Linked DNA regions of Homo sapiens: region 2 is linked to region 1. The links are contacts of gene promoters, found by promoter capture Hi-C in human tissues and cell types (Jung and others, 2019). All regions are on one chromosome and are shown on one strand. The core of a region is centred on a gene start or on the middle of the fragment in contact, and the rest is flanking DNA. Distances in the headings are between cores, read along the strand shown.

The links. Contacts are between HindIII fragments. The study calls those that stand out against the background at their distance.
Region 2: a contact is called between a fragment that was not itself captured here and the fragment with the promoter of PODN in region 1, in 1 of the 25 tissues and cell types used here (adrenal gland).

What each region holds. Positions count from the first base shown.
Region 1 is chr1:53,059,838-53,066,642 of GRCh38, reverse strand. It overlaps PODN (podocan), which reads right to left and starts at 4,430. Exons shown (of 11, transcript NM_153703.5): 1 at 4,335-4,430. RefSeq lists a silencer at 4,265-4,452. The HindIII fragment of the contact is 18,135 bases long and covers 1-6,805 here.
Region 2 is chr1:53,001,674-53,008,478 of GRCh38, reverse strand. The region is part of intron 11 of SCP2 (sterol carrier protein 2); the gene reads right to left. Among named protein-coding and RNA genes, the nearest start is that of PODN, 57 kb to the left of the region's middle. The HindIII fragment of the contact is 4,035 bases long and covers 1,004-5,038 here.

The sequences.
Region 1 (6,805 bases), core at 3,181-5,680:
GCTCTCCCCTAGGCCAAGCATGACAGGAAGCAGGGGACCCAGACAGAAGACTCAGCGTGGCTTCTGCCCTTCAGAGGCCCACAGCTGCACCGTTCACTCCATTAGCCACTGGCCACATGTGGCTACTGGGCACTTGAAATGTGGCTGGTCCACATGGAGATGTAAGTGTAAAATGTAGTGTCCATAGATCTCAAAGATGTCGTACAAAAAAATAATGTAGGATACCTTATTAATATTAATATTAATGACATCAAATCCCATTTATTGTTATATTGATTACATGATAATATTTTGAACAGGTTAAATAAATGTTACCAGTTTCATTTTACTTTTTAAAATGTGGCTTCTGACTAGACAAGGTGGCTCATGCCTGTAAATCCCAGTGTGGGAGGCTGAGACAGGTAGATCACTTGAGCCCAGGAGTTTGAGACCAGCCTGGGCAAGATGGCGAAACTTCGTCTCTCTAAAAAATACAAAAAATTAGCCAGGTGAGATAGCATGCACCTGTAGTCTCAGCTACTCAGGAGGCTGAAGTGGGAGGATCACCTGAGCCCAGGAGGTTGAGGCTGCTGTGAGCCGTGATCGCACCCCTACACTCTAGCCTGGGTAACAGAGTGAGACCGTCTCAAAAAAAAAAAAAAAAAAAAGACCTCTAGAAAATTTTGCATTGCATATGTGGCTTGCATTTGTGGCTCACGTTACATTTCTATTGGACAGTGCTGGTCTGCAGCATTATGTATAAGCTGAGTATTATAATCCCATTCTAAGGGATGACTACCAGGCAAAAGGGAAAGGGTCATACAAGCAAGGGGGTCAATGTGTGCAAAGGCCCAGAGGCAAGACAGTTCACACTCACAAGACTGTCAGGTGGGGGATAGGGACTAGGAGTGATACAAAAAGGCACAGTCGCCACAAGCCCAGGCCACAAAGGAGAGACATGAAGGGCAGGTTAGGGAGTGTGGTCCTTATCACTGGAAGACGAGGACCACTGAAAGGCAGGAGCGTGACACAGGCAGGTTTGTGGGTGGACACGAGGGTGCGCAATTGGGACAGGTGAGGGCTAAGGGGCCTGCCCCTGGCAGAGAGAGAGGTGCTGGACTGCAGGAATGGAGGAAGAGGTAAGAAGGACAGACAGGGCTTGGAGAGTGGTCCCTCCAGCTTCGCCAGCCACTCTCAGGGCTGTGAGGCACTGGGAAGGTCCAGCCCTACTACCTGGTTTGCCGTGTGACCTTGGCCATACCACTGACCCATCTGAGTCTAAATTTTCCAACTTTCTTTTTTTTTTTTGAGACAGGGTCTCCCTCTGTTACCCAGGCTGGACTGCAGTAGCACAATCATGGCTCACTGCAGCCTTGGGCTCCTGGGCTCAGGTGATCCTCCCACCTCAGCCTCCCGAGTAGCTGAAACTACAGGCATGTGCCTCCACACCTGGCATCTGGCTAATTTTTTATTTTTAGAAATGGGGTCTCACTATGTTGCCCAGGCTGTTCTTGAACTTCTGGCCTTCTGCCTCGGCCTCCCAAAGTGCTGGGATTACAGGCATGAGCCACTGTACCCAGCCTTGCTCTTCTAAGAATGGAGCAAGATAAGCCCCCCAAGGCCCCTTCTGTGTACCCAGCCATGTGGGAGGTGTGTGGGGAAGAACAGGGGAGCTCCCTGGTCTCCAGGAGTTTCAAGTCCACCTGGTGAGGAACATCTCAAACCCCTGGACAGCGGGGAAGCTCAGCCAGCAGTGAGTGTTTCTCATATGGAGAGCTTTAGAGACAGAAGGGCATGGGTTCCAATTCTGACTGCTGTGTAAGCCTGGATGAGCCACTTTACTGCTCCGAGCCTCTGTTAACTAGTCTAAGAAATGGAGTTGGGAGCTACTTGTGAGAATTAAATGAAATAGCAGTCTCAGCCTGTCACCGCTGGCATCAAATAGGTGTGACATACCAGGGGTTACTGTTACTGAGAAAGTAAGTGGGACCCACTGTCTCCCCTGACCACTACCAGGGAACCAAACCTCAAGGCCCAAAGTGTGAGGTTAAGGTAGGACTAGAAGAAGGAAGGGAAAGGGAGCCCCAAATCAAGAGGCGGATCCTCAGCCCTCAGCACTACCTTCCTTCTCCACTCAAAGTCAGTACAAATCAACTGACCACCTGCTCTGTGCTGGGCCCCAAACAGCTGCATCTTATTGACTCTAATAGAAATCCTGGGACTACATGTTCGTCTTTCTATTCTGCAGATTTGGAGCTCAAGCACAAAGGGCTGGCATTGCTGCCCATCCCTAGAAAGCTCCTGCTGAAATGCCCCTGCTCAGGGAAGCCTCTCCTGCCCCCTTGGCTGGGTTAGGGTGTTTCTGGGTGCTTCCACAGCAACCTTGGCTGGCTTTATCCTTCAAGTCTCAGCTGGGCCTCCCCTGTCTCCCCAAGCATGGAGTGGGGGTGCTGGGGAAATGTTTGCTGAATGAACGACTTTGTGAAAGGCAGAGTTGGAAAAGATCTAAAGATCTGCAGTATGATCTGCTCTGACTCCCCCAGTTTGCAAATTAGTGTGTTAAAGCCAAGGCCAAGAGTAAAATGTGGGTCTTCTGACTCCTGCCCAGAGCCTTGAGTTGGCCTTGAAGACTGAGCGGGAGTTCTCCAAGTGGACGGAGTGGGAGAAACAGCCCTCCAGGCAGAGGTAGAGTGTGATCAAAAGGTAGGGGTGGGGCTAGAGGAGAGGGACGTGTGTTTAAGGAAGGGTCAACAGGGCGGGAGGCCTGGGTGGCCAAGGGCCTCCACCGCCATGCTAGTGTTGGTGATAGGGACTCATTAAGGGTTCCAAGCAGGACACGGCCAGCACTCGCATGTATGACTACACCAAGCCTAAAAGTGCCACCATTAGTAATCCCCTATCCTAGACTCAGACAGAAGGGATAAAGTGTGCTCCCACAGATGACATGAAAACAGTCGTGTGACTCTGACATTTCTTAACTTGCACTCTAGGCTAGAGTAGACTGGGTCTTGGGCCCTAAGAGTGGACATGAGGGAGCAGAACCCCCAGAGCAGTCCCCCCTGGTCTTTCCCAGGGCAGTCCACGGGCTCTTCTGAGTGACCTACCTCGGAATGCTGTGCGCCTGCAGATCAGCCGGCCTCCTTGCTCACCATGAGCCCTCCTGCCTCGCCGCTGCCTTCCCAGTGTGGAAGGTTTCTATATAAAGGAGGGATAGGGGACGGGACCACCCAGGGGCTCTCCCGGTTCACACCAGTGGCGCCTCGTGGAGCAGGGCAGACCACAGCTTCCCCTTCCCTGGCCAGCCGGTAATCGAAGGGCAGACAGGTCAGTAATTCACTCCAAGCGCTGGGTGAGCATCCTCCGCGCCTCCCGGACCAGCTCAGTCAGTGCCGCGCGCACCGGGGCCGGGGTGCTCGCCCCTTGCTGCCGCGCCTGCTCCTCTCCAAAAGGCTGCGGCTGCCTCTCCTAGCCCCAGCCCCCGAGGCTGCCAGGAGCCTCGCAGCCCCGCCACCACCTCCTCTTCCACCTGACGGAGCGTCAGGTATTCCAACGCCAAGATCTCGTCCCCCGCCCCAGGCCGGGCTGTGGCTCGGGGACCTGGAACCTGGGGCTTCTGCCTCATTCGCAGGAAGGCGCGGATCTCGCTCCTCGCGCTTCGCGGACCCCCACCCCTTCCTCCCTCCAGCTGTCCCGGCTGGGAAGCAGCCGCGTAGACAGATAGACGGACTCCAGACCGCCAGCTGAGACCTTTAGCTCAACTAGTGGTTGGCACTAAGCTGGGGCGGCACAGTGGCCGGGGAAGCCGAGCCCCGGAGGGGACCCACCCGGCGTCCGACGCGCCCTGGGGCCAGACCTCTGCCCCTCTCTGGGCCTCAGTTTCTCTATCTATAAAGAGGTGGAGGTTGGAGTCGCTAGGGGGCCTGATGAGTTGACGTGGAAAGACGCGGGGATACTTCGGGCCCAGGCTCTCATGACAGGGGTCCCCGCCCCTACGCAGTTCCACCTGCCCCCCACATTCCCTGTCGCCCGCCGGCGTCCTCCCACTCCAGCCCCCGCCCCCAACCGCCCTCAGATTCTTTCCAGATGTGCGCAGCGGGAGGGGCCTGGGGACGGGGACCAGCCTCTGCTCAGAGAGGAGAAGGCCCCTGCCTGGGTCCTGACTGCGCAGGGGTCGCACTCCAGAGGAGGAGATCTCCGGCCGTGCCCTGGGTGCAGGGTCCTACAGAGGGGGTGAGATGCGGCGGGCCCGCCCCAGGCAGCTGCTGGAGCCATCCGGAGAGGCGGGGACGTCTGAGTGCGCTGCCCGGGCTCAGCCCCCGGCCCCTCGGCCCACCCCGGCTGCCAGCGCCCTGTACCTGCTGCGCCCCGGCGCCGAGCGGCGCCCCACAGGCCGAACGCGCTCCCCCAGTCTCAGCTGCGCTCCGCGGGCTCGGGCTCCTTCCATTCAAGTCAAGCTGGGCGCTCTCCGCGACGCAAGTTTTGTTGTGGGTTTTCTCCTCCCCGCCTCTCTCCCGCCCCCTTCCCCCACTCCCCACCCGCCCCGGGAGCATCTGCTGGACGCCGGCCTCCTTCGGACACAGGCGTAGGGTCCCCCCAGGCGCGGGCAGGAGAAAGCCTGCCCCTCCCCGCTCGGGACTTGGCCGGTTCCCACTTCCCGGGGAGGCAGAGCCGCCGCACCGACCCCTCTCAGCCCCGGCCGCCGCACCACGCCCCCCGAACCCCCACCCGGGAGACCGGGAAGGCGGGCTGTCTGGTCCGCGACGCTTCCTAGTTCCCAGCCTTCCGCACTGGAACTGGACCCCCTTTAGGCCCCGACACCTGAAAGGAGGGCTGGGGAGAGGGGTCCTTCGACCCAGTGCCTCTGAGCTGTATCTTCCTCATTACAGAGGATGTTGCAACCGCTCCAGGCACGAGTACCTTTCCGTTCACTCTCCCACCCTGGGGTCCTGGGCCGTGGCTAATGGGGCCGCCAGCCAAGACCCTGCTGGGCCTCTTCCCGGAAAAGTTCCCCACGCTCCACCCCACCCTCCACTCCCATCCCTGTTGGCCCTGGGCCCACAGCCTGGTGAGCCTTGAAGAATGGTAAATTGGGCCGGAGTCGGGGACATGCAGATCCCAGTCACAGAGAAACAGGGCGGGTGAACAGTGAGACCTCACACCACCATATTGCTCCCAGGAACTGAAAATGTTTCCAAGTAAAGGAGTATTAACTACTACCAGCTGAAGCAACACTGTTTGGCGCCAGGGGCTTCGGCGGTGGAACAGGCAATGCGGCTGGGCTTAGGTGGTACTTGGCACCTCCACTGTGTAGCAAGCCTCCTCCCCTTACCTGCTCTGGCCTGTGGGCAGGGCATCCACAGCTGCCTCACCTGGCTGTCCTCCCACTGAAGAGGGAGAAGGATGCATAAGTCACACGTGGGACCCCTTGCTCAACCTTAACCTGAATGAATGAATGAATGAATGGCCCCTGTAAAGCAGCTCCAGACTTTTCACTGGCTGCCGCCCCCGTGAGGTTATACCATATGCATTATGCTCTGCTTCACAACTCCGCAAAGGAAGAACTGCTGCTGCCCCACTTTATAGAAAAGAGATGGCCTCAGAAAGGATACTTGACTGAGTAAAATGCCCATTCACTGGCAGAGCTGGGGTTTTGACCCCAGGTTTACCCTTCTCCACAGCCCAAGTTCTTCCCATGATGGAAACAGGCAGGTAACTTGAGCAGGCAAATGTAGAGTCTAGATTTGAACCCAGGACTGTCTGTTTCCATTACACCAACAACCCAAGAACTTAGCAAGAATGGGGAGGGAAAATATTTTGCCTTCTTTGGCCTCAAATTCCAGTCCTTTTGGAGCTCAAACTCACAAGAGTTGGTGTGATTCACAGCATTGGACCTGGACCAACAGAGATGCATCTCGTGTCTTCTCCTGAACATTGAGCCTAGATTCAAGTAGAGCTAAAAGGACAGGATTCTACTAGCTTGAATACTCATGGACTAAAAATCTTTTAGGACAATGAGAGCCAGCACATATTGAGTGCCTAATAAATGACAGGCACCATCCTAAATCCTTAAAATATCTTAATCATCCTAGCCCTGTGGGGAAGATATTCTCTATACTTATAACTGCTAAGGCCAAGGTGTTTCAGGGGCCCGCTACACGGCACACCACACACCCAGTACCCACCACCTCCCAGAGAAATAGGCTTTTCTATGGAATGCTGAGCAAATGCCCATGTGTGCTTTGTGGTTGGCTGCTACTATAGATACAAGCTGCAGGAGGAATCACTTTGAGTGTCTCTGGTGGAAAAATGGAGGCAACCTTGGTGCTCTAGAAGCAAATCCTCTTTCAGAAGGATTGTAAAGGCAGAGTTTGAAATTGAGGTTTCCTGAATCTACTTGTGCTGCTTCAATTCCTTCATGCTGCCCCTCAATTTCAGCTCCTGTTTGATATTACTGAAGTACATAGTGTCAAGTACAAGCTTTAAGCTTGGAGCTGGGTTCAAATCCTAGCTAGGTTCAAATGAATATAAAAATAGTACCTACACTTCACAGTATGTCTAAATTGGAGAATGCAAGTACAGAACTTTACATAGTACCTGTCACATGGTAAGTGCTCAGTAAATGGTAGCTATTACTGCAAAACTATCACCCAGACCTGACCAAATAGCCAGGAAACATTATTAAAATAGAAATGACAAGTGGCAAGAATTAAACAGTAACCTCTGTACTGCCCAGGGAAAGTGCCTTCTAATTCAAAACAATAAGAAACAAGAACACTCCAAAGAGGAGGGAGGAAAGACATACATTGATACGGTAGAGAGAGCTAGG
Region 2 (6,805 bases), core at 1,772-4,271, 57 kb after region 1:
ATATGTTGAACCAGCCTTGAATCCCAGGGATGAAGCCAACTTGATCGTGGTGGATAAGCTTTTTGATGTGTTGCTGGATTTGGTTTGCCAGTATTTTATTGAGGACTTTTGCATCAATGTTCATCAGGGATATTGGTCTAAAATTCTCTTTTTTTGTTATGTCTCTGCCAGGCTTTGGTATCAGGATGATGCTGGCCTCATAAATTGAGTTAGGGAGGATTCCCTCTTTTTCTATTGATTGGAATAGTTTCAGAAGGAATGGTACCAGCTCCTCTTTGTGCCTCTGGTAGAATTCGGCTGTGAATCCGTCTGGTCCTGGACTTTTTTTGGTTGGTAGGCTATTAATTATTGCCTCAATTTCAAAGCCTGTTATTGGTCTATTCAGGGATTCAACTTCTTCCTCGTTTAGTCTTAGGAGGGTGTATGTGTCCAGGAATTTATCCATTTCTTCTAGATTTTCTAGTTTATTTGAGTAGAGGTGTTTATAGTATTATCTGATGGTAGTTTGTATTTCTGTGGTATCGGTGGTGATATCCCCTTTATCATTTTTTATTGCATCTATTTGATTCTTCTCTCTTTTCTTCTGTATTAGTCTTGCTAGCGGTCTATCAATTTTGTTGATCGCTTCAAAAAACCAGCTCCTGGATTCATTGATTTTTTGAAGGGTTTTTTTGTGTCTCTATCCCCTTCAGTTCTGCTCTGATCTTAGTTATTTCTTGCCTTCTGCTAGCTTTTGAATGTGTTTGCTCTTGCTTCTCTAGTTCTTTTAATTGTGATGTTAGGGTGTCAATTTTAGATCTTTCCTGCTTTCTCTTGTGTACATTTAGTGCTATAAATTTCCCTCTACACACTGCTTTAAATGTTTCCCAGAGATTCTGGTATGTTGTGTCTTTGTTCTCATTGGCTTCAAAGAACATCTTTATTTCTTCCTTCATTTCATTATGTACCCAGTAGTCATTCAGGAGCAGGCTGTTCAGTTTCCATGTAGTTGAGCGGTTTTGAGTGAGTTTCTTAATCCTGAGTTCTAGTTTGATTGCACTATGGTCTGAGAGACAGTTTGTTATAATTTCTGTTCTTTTACATTTGCTGAGGAGTGCTTTACTTCCAACTACATGGTCAATTTTGGAATAAGTGTGATGTGGTGCTGAGAAGAATATATATTCTGTTGATTTGGGGTGGAGAGTTCTGTAGATGTCTATTAAGGCCACTTGGTGCAGAGCTGAGTTCAAGTCCTGGATATCCTTGTTAACTTTCTCTCTCGTTGATCTAATGTTGACAGTGGGGTATTAAAGTCTCCCATTATTATTGTGTGGGAGTCTAATTCTCTTTGTAGGTCTCTAAGGACTTGCTTTATGAATCCGGGTGCTCCTGTATTGGGTGAATATATATTTAGGATAGTTATCTCTTCTTGTTGAATTGATCCCTTTATCATTATGTAATGGCCTTCTTTGTCTCTTTTGATCTTTGTCGGTTTAAAGTCTGTTTTATCAGAGACTAGGATTGCAACCCCTGCTTTTTTTTGTTTTCCATTTGCTTGGTAGATCTTCCTCCATCCCTTTATTTTGAGCCTATGTGTGTCTCTGCACGTGAGATGGGTCTCCTGAATACAGCACACTGATGGGTCTTGACTCTTTATCCAATTTGCCAGTCTGTGTCTTTTAATTGGAGCATTTAGCCCATTTACATTTAAGGTTAATATTGTTATGTGTGAATTTGATCCTGGTCATTATGATGTTAGCTGGTTATTTTGCTCATTAGTTGATGCAGTTTCTTCCTAGCATCAATGATCTTTACAATTTGGCATGTTTTTTCAGTGGCTGGTACCAGTTGTTCCTTTCCATGTTTAGTACTTCCTTCAGGAGCTCTTGTAAGGCAGGCCTGGTGGTGACAAAATCTCTCAGCATTTGCCTGTGTGTAAAGGATTTTATTTCTCCTTCACTTATGAAGCTTAGTTTGGCTGGATATGAAATTTTGGGTTGAAAATTCTTTTCTTTAAGAATGTTGAATATTGGCCCCCACTCTCTTCTGGCTTGTAGAGTTTCTGCCGAGAGATCCGCTGTTAGTCTGTTGGGCTTCCCTTTGTGGGTAACCCGACCTTTCTCTGTGGCTGCCCTTAATATTTTTTCCTTCATTTCAACTTTAGTGAATCTGACAATTACGTGTCTTGGAGTTGCTCTTCTCGAGGAGTATCTTTGTGGCGTTCTATGTATTTCCTGAATTTGAATGTTGGCCTGCCTTGCTAGGTTGGGGAAGTTCTCCTGGATAATATCCTGAAGAGTGTTTTCCAACTTGGTTCCATTCTCCCCCTCACTTTCAGGTACACCAGTCAGACGTAGATTTGGTCTTTTCACATAGTCCCATATTTCTTGGAGGCTTTGTTCATTTCTTTTTATTCTTTTTTCTCTGAACTTCTCTTCTCACTTCATTTCATTCATTTGATCTTCAATCACTGATACCCTTTCTTCCACTTGATCAAATCGGCTACTGAAGCTTTGGCATGTGTCACATAGTTCTTGTGCCATGGTTTTCAGCTCCATCAGGTCATTTAAGGTCTTCTCTATGCTGTTTATTCTAATTAGCCATTCGTCTAATCTTTTTTTCAAGGTTTTTAGCTTCTTTGCGATGGGTTTGAACATCCTCCTTTAGCTCAGAGAAGTTTGTTATTACCGATCATCTGAAGCCTTCTTCTCTCAACTCATCAAAGTCACTCTGCGTCCAAATTTGTTCCATTGCTGGTGAGGAGCTGTGCTCCTTTGGAGGGAAGAGGCACTCTGATTTTTAGAATTTTCAGCTTTTCTGCTCTAGTTTCTCCTCATCTTTGTGGATTTATCTACCTTTGGTCTTTGATGATGGTGACGTACAGATGGGGTTTTGGTGTGAATGTCCTTTCTGTTTGTTAATTTTCCTTCTAACAGTCAGGACCCTCAGCTGCAGGTCTGTTGGAGTTTGCTGGAGGTCCACTCCAGACCCTGTTTGCCTGGGTATCACCAGCGGAGACTGCAGAACACCAAATATTGCAGAACAGCAAATGTTGCTGCCTGATCCTTCCCTTGGATGCTTCATCTCAGAGGGACACCCGGCTGTATGAGGTGTTGGTCAGCCCCTACTGGGAGGTGTCTCCCAGTTAGGCTACTCGGGGGTCAGGGACCCACTTAAGGCAATCTGTTCATTCTCAGATCTCAAACTCCATGCTGGGAGAACCATTACTCTCTTCAAAGCTGTCAGACAGGGACGTTTAAGTCTGCAGAAGTTTCTGCTGCCTTTTGTTCAGCTATGCCCTGCCCCAAGAAGTGGAGTCTACAGAGGCAGGCGGGCCTCGTTGAGCTGCGATGGGCTCCACCCAGTTCAAGCTTCCCAGCCACTTTGTTTACCTACTCAAGCCTCAGCAAAGGCGGATGCCCCTCCCCAAGCCTCGCTGTCACCTTGCAGTTTAATCTCAGACTGCTGTGCTAGCAGCAAGCGAGGCTCCATGGGTGTGGGACCCTCCAAGCCAGGCATGGGATATAATCTCCTGGTGTGCCATTTGCTAAGACCATTGGAAAAGCGCAGTATTAGGGTGGGAGTGTCCCAATTTTCCAGGTACCATCTGTCACGGCTTCCCTTGGCTAGGAAAGGGAATTCCCCAACCTCTTGCACTTCCCGGGTGAGGCAATGCCCTGCCCTGCTTCAGCTCATACTCCGTGGACTGCACCCACTGTCCGACAAGCCCCAGTGAGATGAACCTGGTACCTCAGTTGGAAATGCAGAAATCACCCATCTTCTGCGTCACTCACGCTGGGAGCTGTAGACTGGAGCTGCTCCTATTTGGCCATCTTGGAACCTTCTTAAAGGCAGGGAGGGTATACCCTACAAAGTACATTCACAAGGGCGGTGAATATCACAAAATACATTATCGCAAGGGTGGGGAGGATGTATTGTCACAAAGTCAATTGATCAGTTAGAGTGGGGCAGGAACAGATCACAATGGTGGCATGTCATCAGTTAAGGCAGGAACTGACTATTTTCACTTCTTTTGTGGATCTTCAGTTGCTTCAGGCCATCTGGATGTATACGTGCAGGTCACAGGGGATATGATGGCTTAGCTTGGGCTCAGAGGCCTGACAAAATTATCTATCACATGTAAAATATATTTCAAAAAAAAGTAAAATACAGTAGTGCCCTCACATCCATGGTTTCACTTTCCACAGTTTCAGTTACCCTCAGTCGATTACAGTCTAAAAATATTGAATAGAAAATGCCAGAAATAAACAATTCATAAGTTTTAAGTTGCATGCTGTTCTGAGTAGCATGATAAAATCTCGCACCATTCAGCTCCACCCCACCTGGGATGTGAATCATCCCTTTGCCCAGCATATCCAAGTGGTACATCCCACCCACCCGTTAGTCAGTTAGTAGCTATCTTTGTTATTAGAATGACTGTGATGGGTACTGTGATGGGTACTGCTCGTGTTCAAGTCATCCTTAGTTTACTTAATGATGGCCCCAAAGCGCAAGAGGAGTGAAGTGGCGATTCAGATGTGCATACAAGTGCTTCCTTTAAATGAAAAGGTGGAAGTTCCCAACTTTAAGGGAAAAAAATGGCATGCTGAGGTTGCTAAGATCTACAGTAACAATGAATTTTCTATCCGTGAAATTGTGAAGAAAGAAAAAGGGGCTGGGTGTGGTGACTCACGCCTGTAATCCCAGCTTTTGGGGAGGCCAAGGAGAGAGGACCACTTGAGCCCAGGAGTTTGAGACCAGCCTGGGAAGCATAGGGAGACCCCATCTCTACAAAAGAAAAAATAAAATAAAATTAGCTGGGCATGATGGTGTGCACCTGTGGTCCCAGCTACTTGGGAGACTGAGGCGGGAGGATCACTTGAGCCCAGGAAGTAGAGACTGCAGTAAGCATGTTTGCACCATGTTTGCACTGCACTTCAGCCTGGGCAACAGAGGAAGACTCTATCTCAAAAAAAGAAAAAGAAGGCATGATGGCTCATGCCTATAATCTCAGCACTTTGGAAAGCCAACATGGGCAGATTGCTTTATCCCAGGAGTTCGAGACCAGCCTAAGCAACATGGCGAAAGCCCGTCTCTACCAAAAATGTAAAAAATTAGCCAGGTATGAAGGTGCGTGCCTGCAGTCCCAACTACTTGGGAGACTGAGATAGTAGAATCATTTGAGCCCAAGAAATCGAGGCTACAATGAGCCATGATCATGCCACTGCACTCCAGCCAGAGCAACAGAGCGAAATCCTGGTTTCAAAAATAAAAAAAGAAAAGAAATAGAAACAGAAATTCAGGGCTTTCTCCTAGTTATCTCTAGCTAGCAACAGGTATCTAGAGTAGACACCATCTCCTGGGCTCCATTTGTCCTGGCACAGATAGAGTTTAATGATAAAATTTACCTCTCCTCACATTGCAGTGGTAAAAATGCAAAACTCTGGGCAATGGAAACAAGGATGGGTGGCCTGGAGGATATGATGAAAGGTAAAAAAGAAATTTTGGTGAAAAGCTAATTAGCTCTTACTGACTTGCTGGCTTTTTAAGAGTTTATATTGGATTTAGGCCTTACCAGTCATCGTCCTAGGATTTATTTTGGCAACCTCTTACAGAGTAGACGAGATAAGCCATGGTTTGATTTGAAAATGCTCGGTCCCTTGGTTAAAATTCCACTTCTTCTCACATCATTTTCACCCAAATTCTTAAGACCTAAGAAGTTTATAATGCCTTTAAAAGTACTGAAACATGTAAACAAAAATCACAGGATAGAATAATAATATACGTGTCATTAGAAACATCAAGAACTATGTGAATGCAGAAAAAGAAATAATTACTTCGCACAGGAGATCAGAGCATCTTATAATAGAATTGAAAAGGATCTATGAATTCATCAAATCTAAGGCCCAACAGATGGGCAAAATTCTCCTTACAACATTCCTATCAAGTTGTTACATGTATTTTTTGTGCACAGCCTCTCTGACAGGTAAATGCATGCTCTCAGGAGGCAACCTATTCCATTTTTGAGAAGCCATGTTAGAAAGTTCTCTTGTATCCGGCCAAAATATAACTTCCAATGAATTCTTCCTAATGATCCTAATTCTTCCCACATTAAACAAATGTATTCCCTTTGCTCCATGCCACGTTCTAGATGTTAAAGGAGCAATAATATATTCAACTATCCCTTTAAATATGCAATGTATTGCACACTGTTCAAGGTAGAGAGACAAATGAAATATGAATCCTGACTTCATAGGCTCTTAAATAGGGAAGATATTTTTTTCTTTTTTCTTTCTTTGTTTTTTTTTTTTTTGAGACGGAGTCTCACTCTGTCACCCAGGCTGGAGTGCAGTGGCGTGATCTCGGCTCACTGCAAGCTCCGCCGCCTCCCAGGCTCACGCCATTCTCCTGCCTCAGCCTCCTGAGTAGCTGGGACTACAGGCGCCTGCCACCACACCCAGCTAATTTTTTGAATTTTTAGTAGAGACGGGGTTTCACCATGTTAGCCAGGATGGTCTCGATCTCCTGACCTCATGATCCACCCATCTTGGCCTCCCAAAGTGCTGGGATTACAGGCATGAGCCACCGCACCCAGCCTAAATAGGGAAGATTTTTTTAAAGCCTATAAATAATGATAATATATACTATGAGCATAAATGTCAAAAGAAAAGTACTGAGAAAGTATAGGAGTTCAGAAAAGGGAAAGATTAATTCAATCTATGGAAAGAATCAGTGAAACAGGAAAAGCTTCATAAGGTGGATAGCATTTGAGAGAGCACTTGAAGATGGGCGTTTCCAGTGAGGAAAGGACACTGAAGAACAGTAT